Regions from separate parts of the Homo sapiens genome. Here region 2 is linked to region 1. The links are contacts of gene promoters, found by promoter capture Hi-C in blood cells and fetal thymus (Javierre and others, 2016). All regions are on one chromosome and are shown on one strand. Each heading gives the region's core, a stretch centred on a gene start or on the middle of the fragment in contact. The rest is flanking DNA. Distances are from core to core; before and after follow the strand shown. Region 1 holds the start of TOPBP1 (DNA topoisomerase II binding protein 1). Region 2 holds the start of GSK3B (glycogen synthase kinase 3 beta).

Region 1 (6,170 bases), core at 410-2,909:
AATAGTGTGAGCAGGAGTCCCATGTTAACTGTAAAGTGCCCTAGAAATATTAATTGTTATTACAGATTCAGGTCAGATTTGCACCTTAACAATTAACTGTGGTTTCTTTTTTTTCCCACCTCTAGTGATTTTTGTTTTTTTGCTTTTAAGGCTTTCTTCACCCTTCCCCCAGCAATAGGCCTTTACCTTTGAGCCCCAGTGTTAATTGATTCTGACTCATTTCTGGTAAAAAAAAAAAAAAAAAAAAATTAATGATATTTATTAAAGCACAGTAAGACAGATTTTATTCCGGACCATCAGGATAGGTATAGCAACCATGGCAATGGGATTCTGAATTAGGAGAGAGAGAGTGGGCTCAACTCTAAATACACCATGGGCAAGTGGGAATTTATAGCCAAGGAACAAAAAGCTTGGGGTCACTGGATAAAAAATTACTAAGAAGGAACTTCAGGAGTAAAGGGGTTTCTTGCTGAAAATAGGTCAAGGTGATCAGACATCACCTTGGATGGTAGAGGATGAGGAACCTGATCAGATATTGAGGGTAGAGGGTTCTAACTGGATTTTCCAAGGAAATGCACAGATAAACCTACGAGAAGGTTGAGGAGTCTGACTAAAGTTTGGCCAAGCAAAGAATCTTTGTCACCTTCCATCGGTGTATTCAAAAACTTAAGACTCAAGCTGCTCATTACTATCTTTAGGCTCTAAAAAGAAAAGAAAAACAAAAACAATCAAGGGACATGGCATTATACTTTTACATTAGTAAATCCAAAGTCATTTTCTCAATCTCAGCAGTGAATAATAAAATGATCCTCATTAGTATAGTGGCTAGATTTTATAAAATAAGAAAAAATTTTTTTAAAAAAGAATAAAATGAAAAGAAGCAACAACGAATCAGTTTTCCGCTGGTTATCACTAAGGTTTGCAGGCCCATCTTATCCCCTCTCCCTTTGCTCTCTGCCATCTGAATCTTAGGTTCAGTCCCAGAATCTCCCCAGTACTGAGGCAGATGCAGAGAAAGAGAACGGCGATGTCCACTGAAGGGGAGGAGGAGGGGAGACCATTGAAGATCTTGACAAAGATCCCTTTGCATTAGCTGTGTAATAAGTCATCCTTTCTTCCCTTGCCATCTTGTGGCTGTGTTAGGCGGTGATTCTATTCCTGCTGTGTTGGAGGGAAACCACCCAGTCCGTAGTCAGAAGACCTGGATGCAGTATTAATTCTACCACCTACTAGCCGTGTGCCCTTGAACCCATCATTTAACTTCCTCCGTTTTTACATCTACAAAATGGAACTACCACTATTTGCCTCACGGAATTGTTTTGGATAATACCTTTTCCCGTGCATGCCTGGTATAAGACAGGTGTAAAATAAATATCTATTGAGGAAATCCTTTCTTTCCCTGGCTTTTTTAACAGTAAAGGAGTATTCCTGGCCTGTGGTCCTACCTCTTGAACCGACGGCGCTGGGCCTACTCGCAGCGGAGACTAGGCCCGCCCAGCAAAGCCCTAAACCCAAAGGGTCCGGCCCAAGCTTTCCCTGAAGCCCCACCGCCCACAGACTGCTCACCTCCACGTTTGACATTTCCGCTCTTCTGCTGCAGCTGCCGATGGCGTCACTTCCACCGGAAAAGGCAAGCGCGGCCGCGCGGTTGGCGCGAAAGTCGGTTCCCGTTCTGGGCAATTTCCGGGTTCTCCAGCGTTTGCTTTGGGGTAGGGGCGGCGCCGAGTCGGGGGAGGGGGCTGTGCGCCGGGCTGGCGCCCGACCCCAGCCACCGCCCTGCGGCCAGCGCGTCCCCCGACTCGCCGCCCGGAGACCCCGAGGCTCCAACGAGGTAAGTGAGGCGCGGAGTGGGGACACAGCTCCTCCCCAGCCCCAACTGGGGTTCGCGATGCCTTCTGTGGCCTTCAGGACCCTCTTTTCCTGTCCTGGTAACTGGCCCTGGAGCCGGCGGGTGGGCCTTTGACGCCGAGAGGACGTGGCTTCCGTGATCCCAGAGCCAGGCCTTTTCCTGGAGATGGGAACCGGAGCATCTAGCCTTATGCAGGGCCAAGACCATGCTAACTGGCTTCCATGTTTATATTTAAAATCTGTTTACTGAGGGATGAACGTACCTCGCAGGCCGTGGGTATCCGCAGGGACAGATACACTCTGTGTATCCTTAAAACAAGTGCAATTGAATGTCCATTGGCCTAAAGGGCTTAGAGCCTTCATAGCAGGGCCTTCCTCAGTGTATTCAATTCGGGTTAATTTTGCTGTCTGATTTGCAAGGATTGGTGTTGTCATCTTTTACCTTGGCTTTGTCCAAGTTCCAGGATTTCTTAGAAATGCCGTTGACGAATTCACGGGCAGAGCCAGAATGTCTGTCTTTAGGCATTCTTGTCTGCACAGAAAAATAGGTAGGTTAAACATGCAACTTTTTATCTAATGTGGTTTTGTTCTTGTTAATGGTTCCTTTATTTTGACAGTTCAGAAATGTCCAGAAATGACAAAGAACCGTTTTTTGTGAAGTTTTTAAAGTCTTCAGACAATTCCAAATGTTTTTTTAAAGCTCTCGAGGTAAGAGTTGAAAACATCTTAATACCGTGAATTCATTTTCTTGTTTTTAAGTGTTTTTGATTTGTTGGGCTTTATGTCTTAGAAGTAGATATTTCACTTTCATAATAATTTTATAGTCTACATTAATACAGATATATCATTATCACATATTTTTGAATTGATCTAAGTACATCATTATGTATTTCGGGGGGCTGGAAGTCTATTATCACATTGCTGTTTAATATGGCTGACCTACAGTTCTTGGAAATTAAGTTGCTTTCATTTGTCTCCTAGCCAGAGTGGTCCTTTGCGTGCTGTAGAAATTTGAGTCAGTTGTGTACTGGTCATACTTGAAAATTTTTTGGTTAATTGTTAAAAATTATGTTTTATTATGTACAGTATAATAATTGGATGATAGTAGGGGTGATGTAGATCCTTGCTTCTCACAGAACCCAGCAGTATCAGCATGGCCTGGAAGTTTCTTCGAAATGCAGAATCTTGGCCTCCAACCCAGACTTAGAATCTGCATTTCTAACAAGATCTTCAGTGTGCATTAAAGTTTGAGAAGCATTTGTAGCAGATTTTTTTAAACTTCATTCATTCAGCAAGTATTTATTGAAGTGTTCATGATTTGATAGGCACTTCTCTAGTACTTGGGATTTATCAGTGATGAGAACAGGCAAAGATTTCTGTTCTTTCAGAGCTTACATTCTAGCAGGAGGACATAGACACTAATCAGACATGATAAATTAGGAAGAGAAAAAAGCAAAACACGTTAAGGGGTTCCAGAGGATGTTTCTTGGGGTGGGAAGAGAAGGGGGTTATAATCTTAAATAGGGTGTGATCAGGGTAGGCTTTATGAAGAAAAAGATATTGAGTAAACGTGAAGGAGGTGAGATAGCCTTGCAGATATCTGGAGAAGAATGTTGCAGGCAGAGAGAGCAACCTTATACAGCCCCTGGGAAAGTGCCTGTAGTCTCTATCCAAGTTTAGTGTACTGTTGTGTAGTGAGTGAGGGATGGGGGAAGAGTACTAAGGAATGCGTTAGAGAATAATGGTAAAGAGGTCATGTAGGGCCTTGTGGGCCATTTTTCTCTCAGTGGAGAGCCATTGGAGGGTTGATAATCAGAAGAGTAAACATGATCTGACTTACAGTTTTAAAGGGATTACTGTATTTAACATAAGGACCTCAAAATTGGTTCAGAACATTTCTGAGTGCTTACTGGGTGTCAGGATATAGTAGCAAACAAGATACATAGAAACTTCCAGGGGAGAGAGACAAAAACTATATATATATATATAAATACGTATTTTTAAATAGAATAGACTAGAAGGGTAGAGGAAGGGTATTTGAGAAAGCCTGATTAGGATGGGCATCTCTGGGGAGGTGACATTTAAGCAGACCTGATTGAAGTGGGGGATTAAGTCAGGTGAAAACCTGGAAAAAAAGTATTCTGTGCTGCAAGATCAAGAGCAGAGCCTCTAAATGAGGTTATGGTTGGCTTGTTCCAGGGTTGGCAAGAAAGCGGGAGTGGCTGGAATAGAATAAGCAAGAGAGATGAGAAGTAGGAGGTAAAGGTGGAAAGATAGGCAGGAAACCAGACTGTGTTGTCTTGAAGGCTGTAGTAAGAAATGTGGATTTTATTCTGGGTGTGGTGTGAAGACATTAGGTTTTGAGCAGATAGTGACATGATCTGACTTGTGTTTTTGAAAAGATTATTAGCTGCTGTGTAGAGAACAGATTTAGGGCAAGGAAGGGAAAAAGAGACCACTTGGGAGCCTTCTGCAGAGGTCTAAGTGAGATGTGATGGTGGCTTTCAATAGGGAAAAGGCTGGATTTGAGATGGAATTTGAATAGGACCTAAATACAGGAGAGTAATTTCAGGTACATTCTTATTTTATTTTTTCTTTCAGTCCATAAAAGAATTCCAATCAGAAGAATATCTTCAGATTATTACAGAAGAAGAGGCATTGAAGATAAAGGAGAATGATAGATCACTTTATATCTGTGACCCTTTTAGTGGCGTTGTCTTTGATCACCTCAAAAAGGTTTGCTGACTTCTAGTGTGTACCTTTGGTAGTCTATTTTTTGGTTTATCTTTGCTTTAATGGACATACATTCTTTGCGGATTATAAAGTACTATGCAACTTATGAGTACATTGGAATTCTTTTGGTTTGGCAAGACCAGGATTGAAAGGCTAATTATGTTACAGTAGGCTTTTTTTGTTTGTTTGTTTGTTTTTGTTTTTGTTTTTTGGAGACAGAGTCTTGTTCTGTTGCCCAGGCTTTAGTGCAGTGGCACAAGCTCAGCCCACTGCAACTTCTGCTTCCTTGGTTCAAGTGATTCTTGTGCCTTAGCCTCCTGAGTAGCTGGGATTACAGATGTATATACACACCCGGCTGATTTTTTTATTTTTAGTAGAGAAAGGGTTTCTCGATGTTGGCCAGGCTGGGCTGGTCTTGAACTCCTGCACTCAAGTGATCCTCCCACCTCAGCCTCCCAAAATATTGGGCTTATAGATGTAAGCAGTAAGGCAGTTTTCAGTGAAAGGGGCTTTTGAAGTTTATTTCTTTTCTTTTCTTTTTTTTTTTCTTTTGTTATAGGGTCTCACTCTGTCGCCCAGGCTGGAGTGCAGTGACGTGATCTCAGCTCACTGCAACCTCCGCCTCCTGGGTTCAAGCAATTCTCTTGCCTCAGCCTCCCTAGAGACTGGGACTGCAGGTGCCCGCCACTGCACCCGACTAATTTTTGTATTTTTAGTAGAGACGGGGTTTCACCATGTTGGCCAGGCTGGTCTCGAACTCCTGACCTCAGGTGATCCACCCCCGCTCGGCCTCCTCTGAAGTGCTGGCATTACAGGCGTGAGCCACTGTGCCTGGCCTGAAGTTTATTTCTTTTGATAGCTTGCATTGTTTGATTTGCTTTTGTGTGTGAGTGTTTAATGTATAGTATCTCTGAGAAATTATATAGTCATCTTTATTTTTTTCTTGTAATGATTTGCTGATTTCTCTACAGTGGTCATCAACTTTGGTAAAGAATTGGTGAATGTTACAAAATGTAATTTTGTAAGACTGGTGGTCTTTTCCTTCTTAACTCATTTAAACTTTTCTCTTTTTTGTAGCTTGGCTGCAGAATTGTTGGTCCTCAAGTAGTCATATTTTGTATGCACCACCAGCGATGTGTCCCAAGAGCCGAACATCCAGTTTATAATATGGTTATGTCTGATGTAACCATATCTTGTACAAGTCTGGAAAAAGAAAAAAGGGTAGATATTGATCTCATGATGATTGATCAATTTATATATCTATCTCTTATTCTTAATTTTTCACTGCATAGAAGATAGCTTAAAAGACTTTCCGCTTATTGTTCGTGACTTTTAACAAAGTTCAGTATACAACCACAGTGTGTATATATGTATACATGTACATTTTTTAAGTAAATTGAATATAGTAGAATTTGTTTTGTTGAAAACTGGCTAATTGAAATTTTTTGTTTTAATTTAAAAGGACACTCATTTTTTAATCACTTACATTTTTCCACTATAGGTGGACAGTCTTTAAAAAAAAGGATTCTAAATCGTTTGAATCAGGGAGGTGGAGGTTGCAGTGAGCCAACATCACGCCACTGCACTGC
Region 2 (6,499 bases), core at 3,654-6,153, about 14 Mb after region 1:
AAGGATTTGTTAGAGGCATGTGAACCAGAGCAACTCCATCTTAAACAGGAGCCGGGCAAAATGAGGGTGAAATCTATTGGGCTGCATTCCCAGATGGTCAGTTAAGGCATTCTAAGTCACAGGATGAGATAGGAGGTCAGCACAAAATACAGGTCTTAAAGACCTTGCTGATAAAACAGGTTGCAGTAAAGGAGCTGGCCAAAACCCACCAAAACCAAAATGGCGACGAGAGTGACCTCTGGTCGTCCTCACTGCTACACTCCCACCAGTGCCATGACAGTTTACAAATGTGCCATGACAGTTTAGACCCTATGTGGTCCAAAAAGGGGAGGCATGATTAATCCACTCCTTGGTTAGCATATCATCAAGAAACGACCATAAAGAATGGGCAACCAGGCCAGGTGCGGTGGCTTATGCCTGTAATCCCAGTACTTTGGGAGGCCAAGGCGGGCAGATCAACTGAGGTCGGAAGTTCAAGACCAACCTGACCAACATGGAGAAACCCTCACTCTACTAAAAACACAAAATTAGCCGGGCGTGGTGGCGCATGCCTGTAATCTCAGCTACTCGGGAGGCTGAGGCAGAATTGCTTGAACCTGGGAGGTGGAGGTTGTGGTGAGCCGAGATCACGCCATTGCACTCCAGCCTGGGCAACAAGAACGAAAACTCCATCTCAAAGGAAAAAAAAAAAAGGGCAACCAGCAGCCCTCAGGGCTGCTCTATGTAGTAGCCATTCTGTTATTCCTTCATTTTCTTAATACTTGCTTTGACTTTTGCACTGTGGGGTCACCCTGAATTCTTTCTTGTGTGAGATCCAAGAACCCTCTCCTGGGGTCTGGATCATGACCCGTTTCCTGTAACAGATTCAAGTGTTTTTCTTTTATTTTCTATAGTATACTCCTTTAAGATGTCAAAATCAGAGTATTTATATAATTTGCCAAAGGCTTGATATGCAACTTTTCATACAACCAGTCTATTTCACAGTGACAGTGTTTCAAACACTCTCCCTCTTCTTTTTGGGTAGTCATTCATTAATTTCCCATTTGGGCACACCTCACTGGTTATAAGACACATAACCAACTATGCCACATCTTGTTACTCTGGGCATATTTTCAGCAACAGGAAAAACCACAGTGTATGTTACTTCAGAGGCTTTCCTATAATGGTAATGTCTTACATCTGCTAAAGTACCTCTCCACTGTCTACAGGACAAAGCCCAGTTTTTTTTTTTTTTTTTTCCTGTAACAAAGCTCCCTCAAACCTACCTTTTCAACCTTATCTTCCATTAGTCTTCTCTATCAGCTTTTTGTTCCAGCCAAACTGGTTTTCCCAAAGTCAGAAGAACAGAGTCACACTGTCCTTAATTGCTGTTACAGCTCCACCCACATGCAGGTTTACTAAAGAGAGGTTTTATCTGATGGGTTGAAATTGAAGTGATGGAAAGTAATTTACCTCCCCTCTTCTTTCTTCATCTTCAAATCCTACTACTCCTCCTTTAAGATCACTTTAGATTGAAGTGTCCTCCACTCACCTATTATAAATAGGAATGCATGGGCAATTTATTTTAAACTTTGTAGTAACAACCATATTAACAAATTATAGGCCAGGCATGGTGACTCACGCCAGTAATCCTAGCGTTTTGAGAAGCCATGGCACGCAGATTTTGAGCCCAGGAGTTTGAGACCAGTCTGGGCAACATGGCGAAACCCCATTTATACAAAAAATACAAAAATTAGCTGGGTGTGGTGGTGCACCCTTGTAGTCCTAGCTACTTGGGGGGCTGAGGCAGCAGGATCCCTTGAACCTGGGAGGTTGAGGCCGCAGCACTCCAGCCTGGAGGACAAAGTGAGACCCTGTCTCAAAAAAATAAATAAAAACCAAATTATGTTCTGTCTCATAACTTTTATCAATTCAAAATGTGATTTTTATAATTTATTTAACTTTTCATGTAGTTGCTTCCCTAGAGGGTAAACTCCCAAAGGACACTGATCCTCTCATCCACCTTATATCAGATGCCTAGCAGGTGTCTCAAATATAATACTTACTCACTATTGTCTAGTTTTACTATTTTAACTTATATGACAAAGGATTATCATAAAAATTTTCGTTGGAAAGCTTTGCTGAGAAATGTGAATTTTTTTTAAGAATTCCATTGTAATTAGAGGCTTCTGAGGGACATGTGAATCATAGTGAAGAAATAATATAAATGTTATTTTTTGGGCCAATTCCCCTTAAAATCAAACACAGAGGTGGGGTACAGTGGCTTACACCTGTAATCCCAGCTACTTAGGAGGCTGAGGTGGGAGGACTGCTTGAGCCCAGAAGTTCAAGGCCATAGTGAGCTATGACTGTGCTACTGCACTCCATCCTGGATAACAGTGAGATTAAAAGATAAATAAAAGTAAAAAAATAGAAATTTATTATAAAAATACTAAGCAAAGACATTTAAATATTTTCATTTATATTTAAATATGTTATTGACGAGTTATTCTAATTTGTCTTCCTTTCCAATCTTGATCCAAATGTACTTATATTTTACAGATTGGAAATATGGTAGATATACAACCTGAAGTTCTATATTTTTCAATTAGTATTGTTTCCTAAACATATTTCTGAGTTACTTTTGGTGGTTGTATTTATTTTTACTGGCTGCCTAATATGGAGTTAATACAGCATAGTTTACTTTACTCCTCTATTATCCTGTGATATTTTCCTTTATTTTCTCTTGGCCCACATCTTAGACATTACATAATTTCAAACTATCTCAAGGTCTCCAAATACCTTGTTAAACATTTCAGCCATTGCATAACCTTTTCTCTTTGCCTGGAATGTTCTTTCCTTCCTTATCCATCTGTACAACTGTACAACTATTCTTTGTCTAAACTAGTGGTTCATAAACTTTTTTTTTTTTTTTTTTTTTGAGACGGAGTTTTGCTCTTGTTGCCTTGGCTGGAGTGCAATGGTGCGATCTCAGCTCACTGCAACCTCCACCTCCTGGGTTCAAGCAATTATCCTGCCTCAGCCTCCCAAGTAACTGGTATTATAGACGCCCGCCACCACGCCCAGCTAAGTTTTAAAGTTTTAGTAGAGACGGGGTTTCACCATGATGACCAGGCTAGTCTTGAACTCCTAACCTCAGGCGATCCACCTGCCTCGGCCTCCCAAATTGCTGGGATTACAGTCATAAGCCACCACTCCTGGCTTGTCCATAAACTCTTGATCTTGAGCTAACATGATATGCACATTATAAGATACACACAGAAATAAAAAAAGGATTAAAGGTGCACTATTTTAAAGATAAATTTCAACCGGCCCGGTGTGGTGGCTTACGCCTGTAATCCTGACACTCTGTGAGGCTGAGGCAGGCAGATCACCTGAGGTCGGGAGTTCGAGACCAGCCTGACCAACATGAAGAAACCCCGTCTCTACTAAAAATACAAAAGTAGCTGGCATGGTGGCACATGCCTGTGATCCCAACTACTTGGGAGGCTGAGGCAGGAGAATCACTTGAATCGGGGAGGCGGAGGTTGCGGTGAGCCGAGATCGCGCCACTGCACTCCAGCCTGGGCAACAAGAGTGAAACTCCGTCTCAAAAATAAATAAATAAATAAAGATACATTTCAATTATTTAAGGTCCCAAACCATTTTGTTTTCACCCTCCTACTGCTATCGGGCCCCTAACAATTATTAACACTTTTTCCAATGCCTCATTGGCCAAGGGATGTTTTTAGGTTGGCCTGCAGGGTTTGAAAATTTGGTTACCAACATTTAAAAATGCAGAGATTTCACACAAAAATCCAATTTTGGGGTTTCTTTTGGGAGGAAAAAAATTGAACATCTGAGAACACTGGACCCACATTCCTGAGGGCAACAATCTGCTAGAGTTGAGCAGCTGTTCCTTTTAGTTATGGCATGGATATTCCAATTTGCCATTTTCCCTATCATTCCCCATTGTCTTACACAAGGCCAGTCTCACTCATTTGCTTTACTTGTCTGGCCTCTGTAGCCATTTGAATCTGCAAACACTATCTAGACCTTTCCTGTCTTCCATCAAAGCTTACTTTGTTCTGTCCCAAGTCCTTCATCAGTGTTTCAAAGCAAGAGCCAGGTAATCTGATCAAATATAGGTCCTTTAACATGTGCTTTCTGGAGACAGCATCTTAACAGAAAGAGATGACTCTGCAGGTAGAAATTACAGGCACCACTGGATTACAATCAGGATGGCAACTGTCTGTTCTACTTTCTCTGTTATCTTGACGTAGCCATACCTCACTGTTCTAAAGCAGACCAAAGGAACTGGTTCTATGGTAGAACAATGGACGCTGGTCTTATGTATGAAATCTTCTCAAGCTGCACTTTTATAGATCACCCTAGTTCCAAAAGATCCAAAGCTACCACGGGCTCCTCTGACCCCCCCATTTCCTCGGAGGCTTCAGGATATCCGGCCTGACGGCATTTCCCCTCACCTGCTTTCGGGGCCCGTTTTGCGCTGGGCAGTTGCGCCCAAGGAGCGCGCGCATCCAGCATGAGCTCATTTCTCATGGGCGTTTCCAGAGGCCCGGCCGGGCCGCGCACACCAAGCGCAGCAAGCCTCTGTATCAATGGCCCCCGCGGCTGGGCGGGGCGCGGCCGCCCAAAGGCGCTGCCTTTCTGGAAGCTTTGTTCCCATTTTAGCGTCTGAGAGCTTGCAGCCGGCTGGGAAGGCCCCCTTGGTCCGTCTGGCCCTTTCGGGGAAGAGGCCAACACTCGGCACACGCGATCCACGGCAGAGGGGAGCCTTGGGCGCGCAGAATTGGCTGCGCCCCGCCGAGAGCCTCCTGTGGGTGGGGAGAGCCCCTCCACCCCTCTGCTCGCTTGAGCGCTCAGAGCCCAGGGCCGCCGACCGCAGCACTTTCCGATTTGCTGCACCGAGGGCCCGCGGTCCCTGTGTGCGGTTTCCACCGTTGTTGGAGGCGGCCGCAGGCGAACCGTCGGGTCGTCAGCCACGACCCGAGTCAGGCATCTCCCCGCTCCTGGGACCGGGGCCGAAGGCCAATCACACTGCAGCTAGGTCTTGCGATTGGACGGCAGTGAGAGCCGATTGGCCGCCGCCGCGAGTTTCGGGCTCCCTCCCTCTCCCTTTTGCCCCAACTCCAGCGCCTAAGCTTCAGGCCAATGAGACAGCGCTTTATAGACGCCCTCCCTTCGCTTTCTTCTCCCCACCTTGGAGAGGGAGGGGAAGTCCTGACTGGCCAGACTGTCCTCGGAAGCCCCCTTCTCTTCACCAATCACCGAAGGAGGTACGCTCCCAGCGGAGTTTTCCAGCCAATCACAAAGCGGCGGCGGCGCCCAGCCGTGCAGTTTCACCAGCGTCTCTGGGTTTCACCGTCCTCAACTCTTCAAGCCTCTTCGTAAGGGCCGGCGACTCTGATTGGCCACTGTTGCCATTGTCGAATGTCTCCTCCAGCCAGCCACCGAACAAGGCGAATTCACCCTTTCCGTTCGGCTACCTTCGGCATTTTCCGCTCTTTGGGCGTGGCTTCCCAGCGTCACTTTCTAATTGGTTTCTCAGGCTGATCGGCTTTTTCCGGGAGGAGCCGCAAACAAACGACGTCCGTGATTGGCTCCGTTCGGGCTTCGGCTCCCAGCCGAAGCGGGCGAGCGTGGGGCTCGGCCGGCGATTCCCAGACGCCTGTTACGCGGGCGGCGGGGCGCTGGGCGGTGTAAGGCTGGGTGGGGGAGGAAGGAGGTGGAGGACGAGTAGGAGGGGGGAGGAGGAGTGGGGAAGTGCAAGGCGGCTGCGCAGACAGCGCTCCTCACACAGAGCAGCTCCTGACCCGGGCGAATGCGGGCTTGTGCCGCCGCCGCCGCCGCCGCCGCCCGGGCCAAGTGACAAAGGAAGGAAGGAAGCGAGGAGGAGCCGGCCCCGCAGCCGCTGACAGGGCTCTGGGCTGGGGCAAAGCGCGGACACTTCCTGAGCGGGCACCGAGCAGAGCCGAGGGGCGGGAGGGCGGCCGAGCTGTTGCCGCGGACGGGGGAGGGGGCCCCGAGGGACGGAAGCGGTTGCCGGGTTCCCATGTCCCCGGCGAATGGGGAACAGTCGAGGAGCCGCTGCCTGGGGTCTGAAGGGAGCTGCCTCCGCCACCGCCATGGCCGCTGGATCCAGCCGCCGCCTGCAGCTGCTCCTGGCGCAATGAGGAGAGGAGCCGCCGCCACCGCCACCGCCCGCCTCTGACTGACTCGCGACTCCGCCGCCCTCTAGTTCGCCGGGCCCCTGCCGTCAGCCCGCCGGATCCCGCGGCTTGCCGGAGCTGCAGCGTTTCCCGTCGCATCTCCGAGCCACCCCCTCCCTCCCTCTCCCTCCCTCCTACCCATCCCCCTTTCTCTTCAAGCGTGAGACTCGTGATCCTTCCGCCGCTTCCCTTCTTCATTGACTCGGAAAAAAAATCCCCGAGGAAAATATAATATTCGAAGTACTCATTTTCAATCAAGTATTTGCCCCCGTTTCACGTGATACATA

What was found. The method cuts DNA at HindIII sites, captures the fragments that hold promoters and counts their contacts. A CHiCAGO score of 5 or more calls a contact.
Region 2: a fragment that was not itself captured here is called in contact with the fragment with the promoter of TOPBP1 in region 1 in 1 of 17 cell types (fetal thymus); the score reaches 5.0 in fetal thymus.

What each region holds. Positions count from the first base shown.
Region 1 is chr3:133,657,430-133,663,599 of GRCh38, reverse strand. TOPBP1 (DNA topoisomerase II binding protein 1) reads left to right here and starts at 1,659. Exons shown (of 28, transcript NM_007027.4): 1 at 1,659-1,831; 2 at 2,466-2,556; 3 at 4,450-4,584; 4 at 5,659-5,802. The coding sequence starts at 2,473. It overlaps LOC124909487, which reads right to left and starts at 2,374. Exons shown (of 3, transcript XM_047449438.1): 1 at 2,254-2,374; 2 at 1,567-2,087; 3 at 262-701. The coding sequence starts at 2,374. The coding sequence ends at 552. It also overlaps a transcript of TF not described here. RefSeq lists an enhancer at 1,233-1,302 and a silencer at 1,703-1,872. The HindIII fragment of the contact is 9,162 bases long and covers 1,533-6,170 here.
Region 2 is chr3:120,093,746-120,100,244 of GRCh38, reverse strand. It overlaps GSK3B (glycogen synthase kinase 3 beta), which reads left to right and starts at 5,798. Exons shown (of 11, transcript NM_001146156.2): 1 at 5,798-6,499. GSK3B-DT (GSK3B divergent transcript) reads right to left here and starts at 5,141. Exons shown (of 3, transcript NR_186629.1): 1 at 4,467-5,141. RefSeq lists enhancers at 4,690-5,009, 5,289-5,583, 5,210-5,619. The HindIII fragment of the contact is 487 bases long and covers 4,660-5,146 here.